Regions from separate parts of the Homo sapiens genome. Here region 1 is linked to region 2. The links are contacts of gene promoters, found by promoter capture Hi-C in human tissues and cell types (Jung and others, 2019). All regions are on one chromosome and are shown on one strand. The core of a region is centred on a gene start or on the middle of the fragment in contact, and the rest is flanking DNA. Distances in the headings are between cores, read along the strand shown.

Evidence for each region. The method cuts DNA at HindIII sites, captures the fragments that hold promoters and counts their contacts. A contact is called where the count stands out against the background at its distance.
Region 1: a fragment that was not itself captured here is called in contact with the fragment with the promoter of STX6 in region 2 in 1 of the 25 tissues and cell types used here (neural progenitor cells).

Annotation. Positions count from the first base shown.
Region 1 is chr1:180,851,944-180,858,008 of GRCh38, reverse strand. The region is part of intron 11 of XPR1 (xenotropic and polytropic retrovirus receptor 1); the gene reads right to left. LOC124904464 (a long non-coding RNA gene) reads left to right here. Exons shown (of 2, transcript XR_007066760.1): 2 at 1-6,065. Among named protein-coding and RNA genes, the nearest start is that of LINC02816, 52 kb to the left of the region's middle. The HindIII fragment of the contact is 5,147 bases long and covers 444-5,590 here.
Region 2 is chr1:181,018,771-181,024,279 of GRCh38, reverse strand. STX6 (syntaxin 6) reads left to right here and starts at 1,410. Exons shown (of 8, transcript NM_005819.6): 1 at 1,410-1,641. The coding sequence starts at 1,607. RefSeq lists silencers at 1,129-1,228, 1,349-1,478 and an enhancer at 887-1,670. The HindIII fragment of the contact is 9,160 bases long and covers 1-5,154 here.

The sequences.
Region 1 (6,065 bases), core at 1,768-4,267, 170 kb after region 2:
CCAACCTCAGGTGATCTGCCTGCCTCGGCCTATCAAAGTGCTGGGATTACAGGTGTGAGCCACCACACCCGGCCACTATATTGTTTTTATAATAAAAATAGTACATAGGAATTCCTTTACTAATTCAAGAACTGTTTACTACTGAGTATATACTATAACCTGCATTATTTATTGTATAACTAGAATACTAAAGACTAACTCCAAAAAAACATCTGCTTGCTTGTATATTCAGCAAACAAATACTGAATGTCTACTGGGTAACCTAACTAGGTACATTCTAGGGAATGAGAATATACTGAAGAACTACTAAGGGCCAAGTCTAAAAGAGGAGAGAGAATTTAGTCAAAAACACAATGTATAGGTACAGTTCTGGAACTGTGCATAGAAAAGGAATCAATAAGCCAGGAGGGGAAATAGCCAGGAAAATCTTCCTGAAGGAGGTACTACTTGAGCTGAATCATGAAAGGACTTGAGTTAAACAAGTTTATGGGGCAGAGAGAACCATTTCAAGCAGAATAGAAACCATTCATTCAATAAAGAGTACCTGCACATGCCAGATATTATTCTAGGTACCAGGTACACAACAGTGAATCTTATTTACTAATGGTCAGACAAATTTCCTGCCTCAGTAAAGCCTCCTATTTCGTAGGGGTAGACAATGATCAGATATATAAGTAAAGATGATGATTTCACACAGTGAAAAATACCATGAAGAAAACAGAACAGGATGATAAGACAAAATTCCTTCAGACAGTATTCAGGCAGAAACAGCGTTCAGGCAGAGAAGGTTTCTTAAGTTGGGACTTGGGTACTGACAAGGAACCAGCCACATTTTCATGTGAAGGTGGAGAAAGAGTATATGTAATAATAAAATTTCTAGTAACCATATTCAAAAAGGTGGAAACAGGTAAAATTAATAATATATTTTATGTAATCTATACCTAAAATGTTATCACTTTTACATTTAATATATAGTCAAAATAAAATTGATATCCTTCACAGTTTTTTGTTTCAAACTAAGTCTTCAAGATCCAGTTTGTATGTTATACTTACGGCACATTTCGATTTAGATTAGGCACACTTCAAATGCTCAACAGACTGATGTAGCTGGTAGTTAAATTATGCAACAGTGCAGCTCTAGGTATCTTTGGGGAGATGAGTTTGAGGTGTAAAGATTGAAAGCAGTGTATTAATATGGCTGTGGCAACAGCCCAGTGAGAAACAATGAGGACTAGAATTGAGTATAAGTTTAAGGAACAGAGAGGTAAGGCAAAAATTAAGAAATACTTGGGAACTAAAATTGGCAGGACTTGGTAAATTTTGAAGGTGAGATGAAGGATACAGTCAAAAATAACTCCTAGTTTTTAACCTGGGTGAGTGGCATGGTGCCATAAACTAGGTTAGAGAACATGGGGCTTGAAGCATGCTTAGGAAAAAAAATGAGTTTATTTTTTGACGTGTTGACTTTAAGGTACTTACGAAACATCGAGGTGGAGGAAGCCCAGAAAACAACTGGAAAAAACTAAAAAGCTTCAGATACAGACTGGGGAGTCACACAGACAGTGGTTGCAACCATCAAAATAATTTAGAAGCTCTTTCTATGAAAAGGACAGGCTACAATGAGAGATAAGTCTTCCATCTATAAGGGGAATCACACTGTGTTTGACTACACTTGGTTGAGTTTATTTCCAGTTTTTTTTTTTAATACCAAAGACTCAAAGAGATGAGAACTCTCTGAAATGTTACAGAGCTTCTCTTTATCTCTTAAAAAATTTAAATTCTAATTCTATGTTTGTTTACATTTCAAGGTTTCTAAATATGTGTTAATTACTATAGAGTTATTGTGGTTATAGGAATGGAGACAGTAAGAATAAGAATAGATAGATTACTGTTTTGAGATGCAGGATAGAGAAAAGGAAAAAAGACTAGACCAGATGGCTTAATGAGGTAAGGGAAATCTTTTTAGAGTAGGGGACTCTTAAGCATGTACATAGGCTAGAAGGAAGGAGCCAGTAATGACAAACAGTTTGAAGATTTGGGAAAAACAAGGGACAACTGCCAGAGCTAGATCCTGGGACAAGGGGAAATGAGAGCAGTGCACAGGAGGAAGGACACCTTGTTACTTTAGACTGGGGAAAATACAGTAAAAAGGGGTTTAGATTAAATAAGCATGTAGGGAGAAGGTAGCTGAAGGAAAATGATTCCTGATAGCCTCAATTTTCTTAAGCTAGTAGGAGACAAGGTGGTCTGTAAGAATAAAGAGGAAAAGGCTGAGTTAGGAGCTGAGAAAAGCAATGAAAGTTATAGTAAAACCGTCCCCCCTCCCCCCACTTTTTTTTTTTTTTTGAGACACAGTCTCACTCTGTCGCCAGGCTGGAGAGCAGTGGCATGATCTCGGCTCATTGCAACCTCTACCTCCTGGGTTAAGTGATTCTTCTGCCTCAGCCTCCCAAATAGCTGGGACTACAGGCACACACCACCACACCCGGCTAATTTTTGTATTTTTAGTAGAGACGAGGTTTCACCATGTTGGCCAGGCTGGTCTCGATCTCCTGACCTCATAATCTGCCCTCCTGGGCCTCCCAAAGTGCTGGGATTACAGGTGTGAGCCACTGTGCCCAGCTGTAAAAACCCCTTTTCAAGTTAACATTTTTGAGATAAAAAATTTAATAATATGTTAACAAAGGACAAAATACATTAAAGTTTAGAAAAAAGTTAATCTCTCCTTCCTATGACATTCTTTTCACAAAACATTTTGCTTGTGCTTATACTGTCTTTCATTCTGTATATACACAATTTTTTTCTTTCCTGTAATATTGTATTCTATCTAGCATTGTGAAAAGAATTTAACTTTAGAGTAGAGCAAATTGAATATATATTTGTCTTTTCCATTAAATTGTAATGTCTTTCACAGAAAGATCTCACATCAGCATTTTTCTAGGGCCCATGTACCATGCTGGACATAGTAGGGGCTTAATTAATATTTGCCAAACTGAATTGAGGCTATGTTTCACTCATTTTTGTATTTTCTGCACAATGCTTTACCTTCCAACAAATACTTGGGAAAGGCAACATAGTCTCTGGGCAGCCTACACATATAATGTGTCCCTGAAAACACCTATTAAGTTTGTAGCTCCTAGGCCCTCCAGGCAAAATGAAATGGACAGCTGTGGCAAACAGAAAACTTTAAAACCAGATTCTAAGGCTTTGACAAAGGCAGGAGGTCAGTCACACCTCCACATTCCCTTATCTCATTATCAGCCGCCAAGACTTTCTTTCCTATAATTAAACAGAAACCAGTCCCTAAAAACAATGTGTGCAAGATTTCTTCCCCAACCTCAACAGACCATCTGACACTGTGGCCAAACTCCCCTCCCTTATCGTGCTTTTGCCACGATAGGTGACTAGCCTTACAAAGCATTCCTTTTTGATAAATGACTGCTGATCACAGACTCGTTCTGGCTGGTCCACAGAGACTGAGCACAAGATGCCTCTGTGCTCTGCTCTGTGTTTCACCTTTTGACACAAAGAGCCGAATTTCACTTCACTTTAATGTTAACTGCCTACTCCGAAGTGAACATGGGACATATGTAACATATATGTTTACTCACCACACATTTGGTTTCCCTCATAAATATTCATAAATTCTCCTATAACCTGCTAAATATGTATGCGGAGCTAACCCCACTGGGGATAAATTCCAACCTCTCCCCTTTGTAACTGAAGCCTATGTATTTGGTTTTGGCTGGAAGCTTAGTTTCCTGACCTGCAGATTGTAATCCTTTACAGGAAATAAAGCTTTCCTTTTGCTTCCTCTGCCAATCTCATGGTCTTTTGTTAATAAGTTGAATGTGAAAAAGTTAAGCAACAGACTTATATGAGGATAAGTTCCTGAGAGCTAAAAATAGATAAAGCAAAACCCCTATTAAACTTTCCTTGCCTTTTAGATACAACCTTTAACGGCATTGTTCTAACATTTTGTAGACATCATTTTTTTCCTTTACAACAAAACACAGCTGCTTTTAATTCAATGAGTGTCACAATGATGTTTAAAAGTTGCTGCTTTCTGCATGCCTAATGATTCCTATAGCTGTTTTAACTGTATTACACTTATGAGACATTAAAAAAATTGTGTGTAATATCACCACAGATAATTCCCACTGATTTCAAGAAAAACGAACAAAATACAACAAAATACAAAAAAAAAAAAAAAAAAACCACATGAATGCACTATTATTTGTGCCACAGAAGGTAAGGCTGCCAAAGCTCTCAGTTAGCAGCTAGCAATACCATGCAAAAGCAGGAAATGTTCTCAATCCAAAGGATAATTAAGAGGTAGGGTGTGTGTGTGTGTGTGTGTGTGTGTGTGTGTGTGTGTGTGTCTATAGTCTAATAACAAAATACCCAAACTGTCCAGTTTTCAATTAAAAAAATCACTAGTCATACAAAGAACAAGGAAGATCTCAAACTTAATGAAAAGACAATCAAAGATGTCAAAACTGAGATGATAGAGATGTTGGAATTACTGGACAAAGATCTCACAGCAGCTATGATAAAAATGCCTTAGCAAAGAAACAGTCTCACCAAAGATACAGGAAACACAAAGAAGAACCAAATAGAAATATTAGAAGCCAAAAATACAATAACTGAAATAAAACTCACTGTTAACAGAATAATAGAAGGGACAGAGGAAAGAACTGGCAACTGAAAGATAGAATAGAAATTTCCTAACCTGAACAAGAAAGAAAATAGGTTGAATTTAAAAAATGAAAAGAAGCCAGGCGCAGTGGCAGTGGCTCATGCCTATAATCCCAGTAATTTGGGAGGCCGAGGCGGGTGGAAAACTTGAGGTCAGGAGTTCAAGACCAGCTTGGCTAACGTGGCGAATACCCGTCTCTCCTAAAAATACAAAAATTAACTGGGCTTGGTGTGCGCCTGTAATTCCAGCTACTTGGGAGGCTGAGGCATGAGAAGTGCTTGAACCCAACGGGTGGAGGCTGCAGTAAGCTGAGATTGCACCATTGCAATCTGTGGGGGATACATTCCAAAACCCCCAGTTGGTGCCTGAAACCATGGATAGTACTGCTATGATAAAGTTTAATCTATAAATTAAGCACAGCAAGAGACTAGCAATAATAATAAAGCAGAACAATCATAATATACTGTAATAAGTTATGTGGAAGGCTGGACGTGGTGGCTCACGCCTGTAATCCCAACATTTTGGGAGGCCGAAGTGAGAGGATTGCTTCAGTCCAGGAGTTGGAGACCTCACCTTTACAAAAAATAAACAAAATTAAACCAGTGTGGTGGCGCACACCTGTAGTCCTAGCTACTCAGGAGGCTGAGGTGAGAGGGCTGCATGAGCCCAAGAGGTCAAGGCTGCAGTGAGCTGAGATTACACCATTGCACTCCTGCCTGGGTGACAGAGTGAGACCCTGTCTCAAAAAACAAAACGAAAACCATAAGAGTTATGTGACTGTGGTCTCTTTCTCTCTCAAAATAGCATAAAGTTTTCAGACTGTGGTTGACCACCGATAAGTAAAACTGCAGAAAGTGAAGGTATGGATAGGGTCGGGGGAATACTGTGCAAAAAAGGCAACAGGGGGGATCCTTGTGGTGATGGAAATGTTCTGTATCTTGACTGTATGAATGTCAATATTCTGGCTGTGATATTATACTATGTTTGTAAAGTGTTACCACTGGGGAAACTATGCAAAGGGTATATGGGATCTCTCTGCATTACTTCTTGCCATGCATGTGATTCTACAATTATCTCAAAACAAAATGTTTAATTAAAAAAAAACCACAGAACTTGACTGTTCCTCAAAACCTTCACTGAGTTAACCACTTCCTCTTTGAAACCACCTTATACCCTATACAATACTGATAATATAGTATTATTGCACTTCCATGTTCTATTGTAATTAGTCTATTTCCCTTACCAAACCGTGAGCTCCAAGAGGAGGTTTTAAAGGCAAGATATGTTTTGTTCATCTATGTATGCCTAGCATCTAGTAGTGCCTGATACATTGAAGATGTTTTGTAAATGTTTGTTGAATAAAACT
Region 2 (5,509 bases), core at 161-2,660:
TAGCAGTAATTATCACATTGTAAGAGCAACTGAGATAACACTTAACATCCTGCCTGACACACACACACAGTAAGTGCTCAATGATTTTCAGCAATCAAAGTCCACAATCCCCATCCACAAATTTCATAGCATATCTAGCATATGAGTTGGTTAATGGTTCTGGGCAAAATGTTTTCTCGAATAGCTCTTGAACCACAGTGAGAGGAAGTTGTCATACCTGGCCCCTTCTTTATTCCTCGAAGGTGTGCTCTCCTGGGAAGCACCATATGCTGTATGAAAAATTACTTTACATGGTTATTTGCAGAATGTACAGCAACAGAAAGTACACCCCATCTGGTGGAAAGTGCACAGAATCTGCAGTTCTGCCCTGTCCAGGCTGTGTGACTACAGGAAGTCTTCAAGCCTCTCTGAACTTATTTTCTTATCTACAAAATGAGAAAAATGGATGGTGTGGTGGCTCACGCCCATAATCCCACCACTTTGGGAGGCAGAGGCAGGAGGATCATGTGAGCTCAGGTGTTCAAGGCCAGCCTAGGAAATATACTGAGAGCCCCATCTCTATAAAAAATTTAAAAATTAGCCGGGCGTGGTGGCGCTCACCTGTAGTCCCAGCTACTCGGGAGGCTGAGGCCGGAGGATCGCTTGAGCCCAGGAGGTCAAGGGTGCAGTGAGCTGTGATTGTGCCACTACACTCCAGCCAGGGTGACAGAGAGAGACCCTGCCCCCCAAAAAGGGGGAGGGGGGAATAATACTTTCCCCCAAAGGATACTGAGATGATGCATACACAACCTTTAGCACACTGTCCAACACAAAGCAAGACCTACTTAAAGGATCTGTGTAACATTATAATCAGATACTATGCTTCATTTTAAGTCGAGGACCAGATAGATTTATAAATTACATACTGTCAAAATTAAGTATTAAAAGTAGAGGAAAGGTAAGAGGATTTTGCAAATCAGGTACAACTACAGCTTATCCTGAAAAGCCGACTGCCTAGTTCTGAGGGAACAAGCCACTCCTCACCCTCAAGCTTGAGGAGAGGGCTGTAGAAGCCCGCCCACCTCCACCGCCCCGAGGGCTCCGCCTCCAGGGCCGAGGGACGCAGGCGTAAGCCCCGCCCACTGGGGGGGGGGGGAGAGAGAGAGAGAGAGAGAGAGAGAGAGAGAGAGAGAGAGGAGAGAGAGGAGAGAGAGGAGAGAGAGGAGAGAGAGGAGAGAGAGGAGAGAGAGGAGAGAGAGAGAGAGAGAGAGATATATGCCCTGGTCACGTGAGCGGGGTGCGGAAGTCGTGTTTCAGGCGGCGTTCGTGATTGGCCGCGGCCGAGGGTCCCGGGGGTGGGGTCAGGCCCTCCGACGCTTCGGGAGGAGCCGGGACTGGAGGCTGCCGAGGGGGCCGGCGCCCGAGTCCGGGATTCGGCCAGTGGTGCTGAGCGAGTGCTGGACCAGCGGCCGTCCTGTGCACCTGGCCTGTGCGCGTGCCCGCTGCTCGGCTTCACCCAGACTAAGGCGCGGGCAGCTGCGGGAACAGGCGGGGTGGGCGGAGGGAGACCGGGAGGCACGGGCGCCCTGTGCGCGGAGGAGGTGAAGGCGGCCGGGGCCGGGACGCCATGTCCATGGAGGACCCCTTCTTTGTGGTGAAAGGGTGAGTGTCGGCCGAGCGCTCCACCGGAGGAAGAGGTGGCGGTGCTGCCTGCCCGCACCTCCTAGGTCTTCTCGCAGTGGGGGGAGGGGAGGCAAGTTGGAGCTGGGGAGGGGGAACAGTGGAGACGGCTTAGTCTTGAGGGCCATGACCAAGCGTCAAGAGACGTTCCCTCCATCCCTACCTGGACCGTGAAGCCACTGTCCCCAGCCAAGCCCCTGGTGGTGGGGGGCCCTTTTTGGCCTGTGTGCTGCGGTACAATTTATTTGGGGGCCGAGGGGCTCAGCAGCTCTGCAGGTGGGGAAGGAGACACGCGGGTCCTGGCGCACACTGGCCGTCTAGTCGAGCATGGGATCTTGCTTCGAAGGAGCGAAAACAGCATCTGGGCAGGAAAAGGGAAATGGCCCTCCTGAGCTTTGTAGTTCGCGTTGACGGGGGTGAGCTCCATTGTCCATTGAGTTTGGAGCGCTTGTCCGCAGACTGGCGAGACCACAACAAGCCCAGAGGCGTCTGAGCACGTTTGCTGGGAGGGAGGCGGGGGCGGGGGCCGTTCTGGGAGGCTGGGGAGCAGGGCACCGGAAGACAATTCAATGGGGGAGTTTTTACTGAGTAATGTGAGGAGAGGAAAGCAGTCGTTCATACTCAGTGATGATTTGGAAGGAAAACAAAATGAAACAAGCCAAACCAAACTTTCCTCAGCTTTCTATTAGCAACCGGAATTTTCTCACAGTGCTAAAGGAAATGAGTGTTGCTTGTTAACTCCTTGATTTCATCCAGGTTGTTTGACAGGTTTCTCCTATTTCTTCTGCCTTTCAGAATAGAAAGGACTGCCTTCTGTTCCCTTACAAGCTATCCTAGCTCATCTTTGATTGCTCGATTGTTTCTTTGGAGATAGAGTCTTCAACTGCACTTTGTAATATCCACTTCGTAGCCATTAAACACATGCAAGAAGATCAATTCTGATGTAACTTTTAGTTTCTTATTAGAAACTTGTCAGTTTTCTGTTTTAAATGTCAAACATGAAAAATCTGAAAACTGCAAAGTTCCCAGGTCAGTACTGATCACCACAGAATGTCCCTTGCTTTTTACTAGTTGCTGCTAGCTTCCTATTTCTGTAGTGGTGCAAGCTGGCCGTTGTATAGTCAAGTGTTGTAGAAAATTTAAATGGTATTTTAGGTGAAATACTTTATCGATTATGCAGTAAAATACATTTATACTACTTCTTAATATTTCCCTGGAAAGTTTTTTTTCTTCACCTTACTCTAATTTAGATGGGAAAATGCTGAGTTGTAAATTTACTGGTAATATGTGTATCCCTACCTAGAAAATGTGATATTTATTAGAAGGATTGATTTAGGGGTTAATTTTTAAAATAGATGTTTTTTCCTTGATTGAAAGTTCTTAATGCTTAGGTTGGCAAAGGTTATCTCTGGCGGTAGAGATCAGAGATGATCAGAAATTTTTTGTTTGACTTTTTATGGAATTTGTCAAAAGCCTAAATTCTTCTGTCTTGGCATTTTTTTTTCTTGATGGTATCCTATACAGTCTACTAATGCTTGCTCACTGATTAAATATCACTACTTTATCGGAACATTGGCTTGGAGGGAGTTTTGATTGATTTTTACATCATTTTAGCTCCTATCTTTAAGGTTCTTGAAGGAAAAGAGATTCTCAGTTCCTTCTGCTGTGGAAAGGTAAAGTCACCCATGAAGGTGTATCCAGATTTTTGGGGAGTCATGTACCTGTGTTTATTAAAAGTATCAAAAATGCATTACACAGCATGCAAAAATTAAAGGTGCCTAAATTATGGCCCTTAGCCTAGGAGCTTCTGGTCTAATCTGAGAAACAAATTACCCCAAAATTAAATAGAAATGACAGGTGGCAAATGAATGAGTGTTGAAGTGAATGCTACAGATAAGTGCCTCAGGAGTTCAGAGAAAGGTAACTCCTTGGGAATTGTTAGGATTAGGAGAGCTTTTGGAGGCAGTAGTGTATCTTGAATTAGGTTTTGAAGATGGGCAGAATTTAGATAATCAGGCCTGTCTCTCTTACCTGGATGCTTATCAGAGTCTTTTTAATTGTTCTTCCTGCTTCTGGTCTCATTTCCTCTTTCAGCTGTCCTGGGATCTATTGGATCATTGCTGTCCAATAGAAGTATAATGCCAGCCATGTATGTCATTTTACATTTTCTAGTAGCCGCAGTAAAATATAAAGGAACAGGTGAAATTAATTCTAATGTAATCTCTAATACATTCAAAATATTCAACATGTGATTAAAGATTATTGATGAGATATTTTACTTTTGTACTAAGTCTTCTAAATCTGATACATATTTTACACTTACTGCACATTTAAATTTGGACATTAAATTTTCATCAGAAATAATTGATCTGTATTTAAAGTTCATTAAATACATTTTTTTTTTTTGAGACAGAGTCTTGTTCTGTTGCCCAGACTGGAGTGCAGTGGTGCAATCACGGCTCACTGCAACCTCTGCCTCCCAGGTTCAAGCGATTCTTGCACCTCAGCCTCCTGAGTAGCTGGGACTATAGGTGTGTACCACCTCACCTGGCTAATTTTTGTATTTTTAGGACTATGGGCAGGGCACCCGCCACCACGCCCGGCTAATTTTTTGTATTTTTTAGTAGAGACGGGGTTTCACCATGTTAGCCAGGATGGTCTCGATCTCCTGACCTTGTGATCCACCTGTCTCGGCCTCCCAAAGTGCTGTGATTACAGGCGTGAGCCACCGCGCCCGGCCTACATACTCTTTAATTGTTCCAAACATACATAAAAGGTTTTTGATAACTGAATTGCTATCAGTTACCAAGTTTACATTAATTAAAATTTAATTTCTGTCACACTAGCCACATTTCCAGTCAGTAGTTGTATGTGGCTTCCGTGTTGGACAGCACAGTGTAAGCTTTTCTAGAGTCCTAGACAGGTGTACCCTACTTAATATTATTCAGTGGCTGCTGCTGGCCTGCAGAATAAAGTGCCAACACTTCCTGACCTCACTGATCTAGCCTCTGCTCTCCCTTAGCCTTAGTACTCCAGCAGTGCCAGACTCAATACAGTGACTGTGATTGCTGTACTGGATGCTCTTACTCTACATGCACCCACACTGCCTGATTCACCCACGCAGCTTTCTGGAGTCAGTGTAAGCATCTCCCTTGCCTCCAGGAAGTGCTTCCTTTGTCACCCCTAATTATTGGACCTCTTCCTCTGTCTCTCTTTCATTATTAGACTATGAGCTCTGAGGTTTGGGACTGTTTTTTTTTTTTTTTTCCTCTGTATTTCCAGCCTACACCTTGAATATATAGTGTAAATGTTGAACACATACTCTTTGTTGATGGTGGTGATTGTGATGGAATGGTGCCTCATGGGTGAGAACACCACCAGCCAAAGGCCTAAGTTGGGCAATGTGTGTTAGAAATGATCTGGAAGAGCAGCCCAGGTGGAGTAGACAGTTTAGGGAAGTAGTAACAGCTCACATTTAAAGGATGCATCTCCAGTGCCAGGCATACATGTAAAGTGCTAAGTAAGCACTTTATATGAATTTTCACTCTGTAAAAACACCCATATGATGAATACTAGCCACATTTTAGAGATGAGAAGCTGAGGAAGTGTTAGAGGGGTTAACTTACTTGCCTAGGGTCACACAGCTAATAAGTGGTGTACTCAGGCTTCAAATTAGAACAACCTGATTTCACACTACTGTCAATACTTCCCAGTGCAGGTAAAATAGGGTCAAGTTATGTTGGCCTAAGGAGAATCTCATCTTGAGGCCATTACAGATTTTTAAAGCAAGGAAATGACATGAAATTAGGATTTTAGGAATATTGATTTGGTGGTAGTGTTGGATGCATCA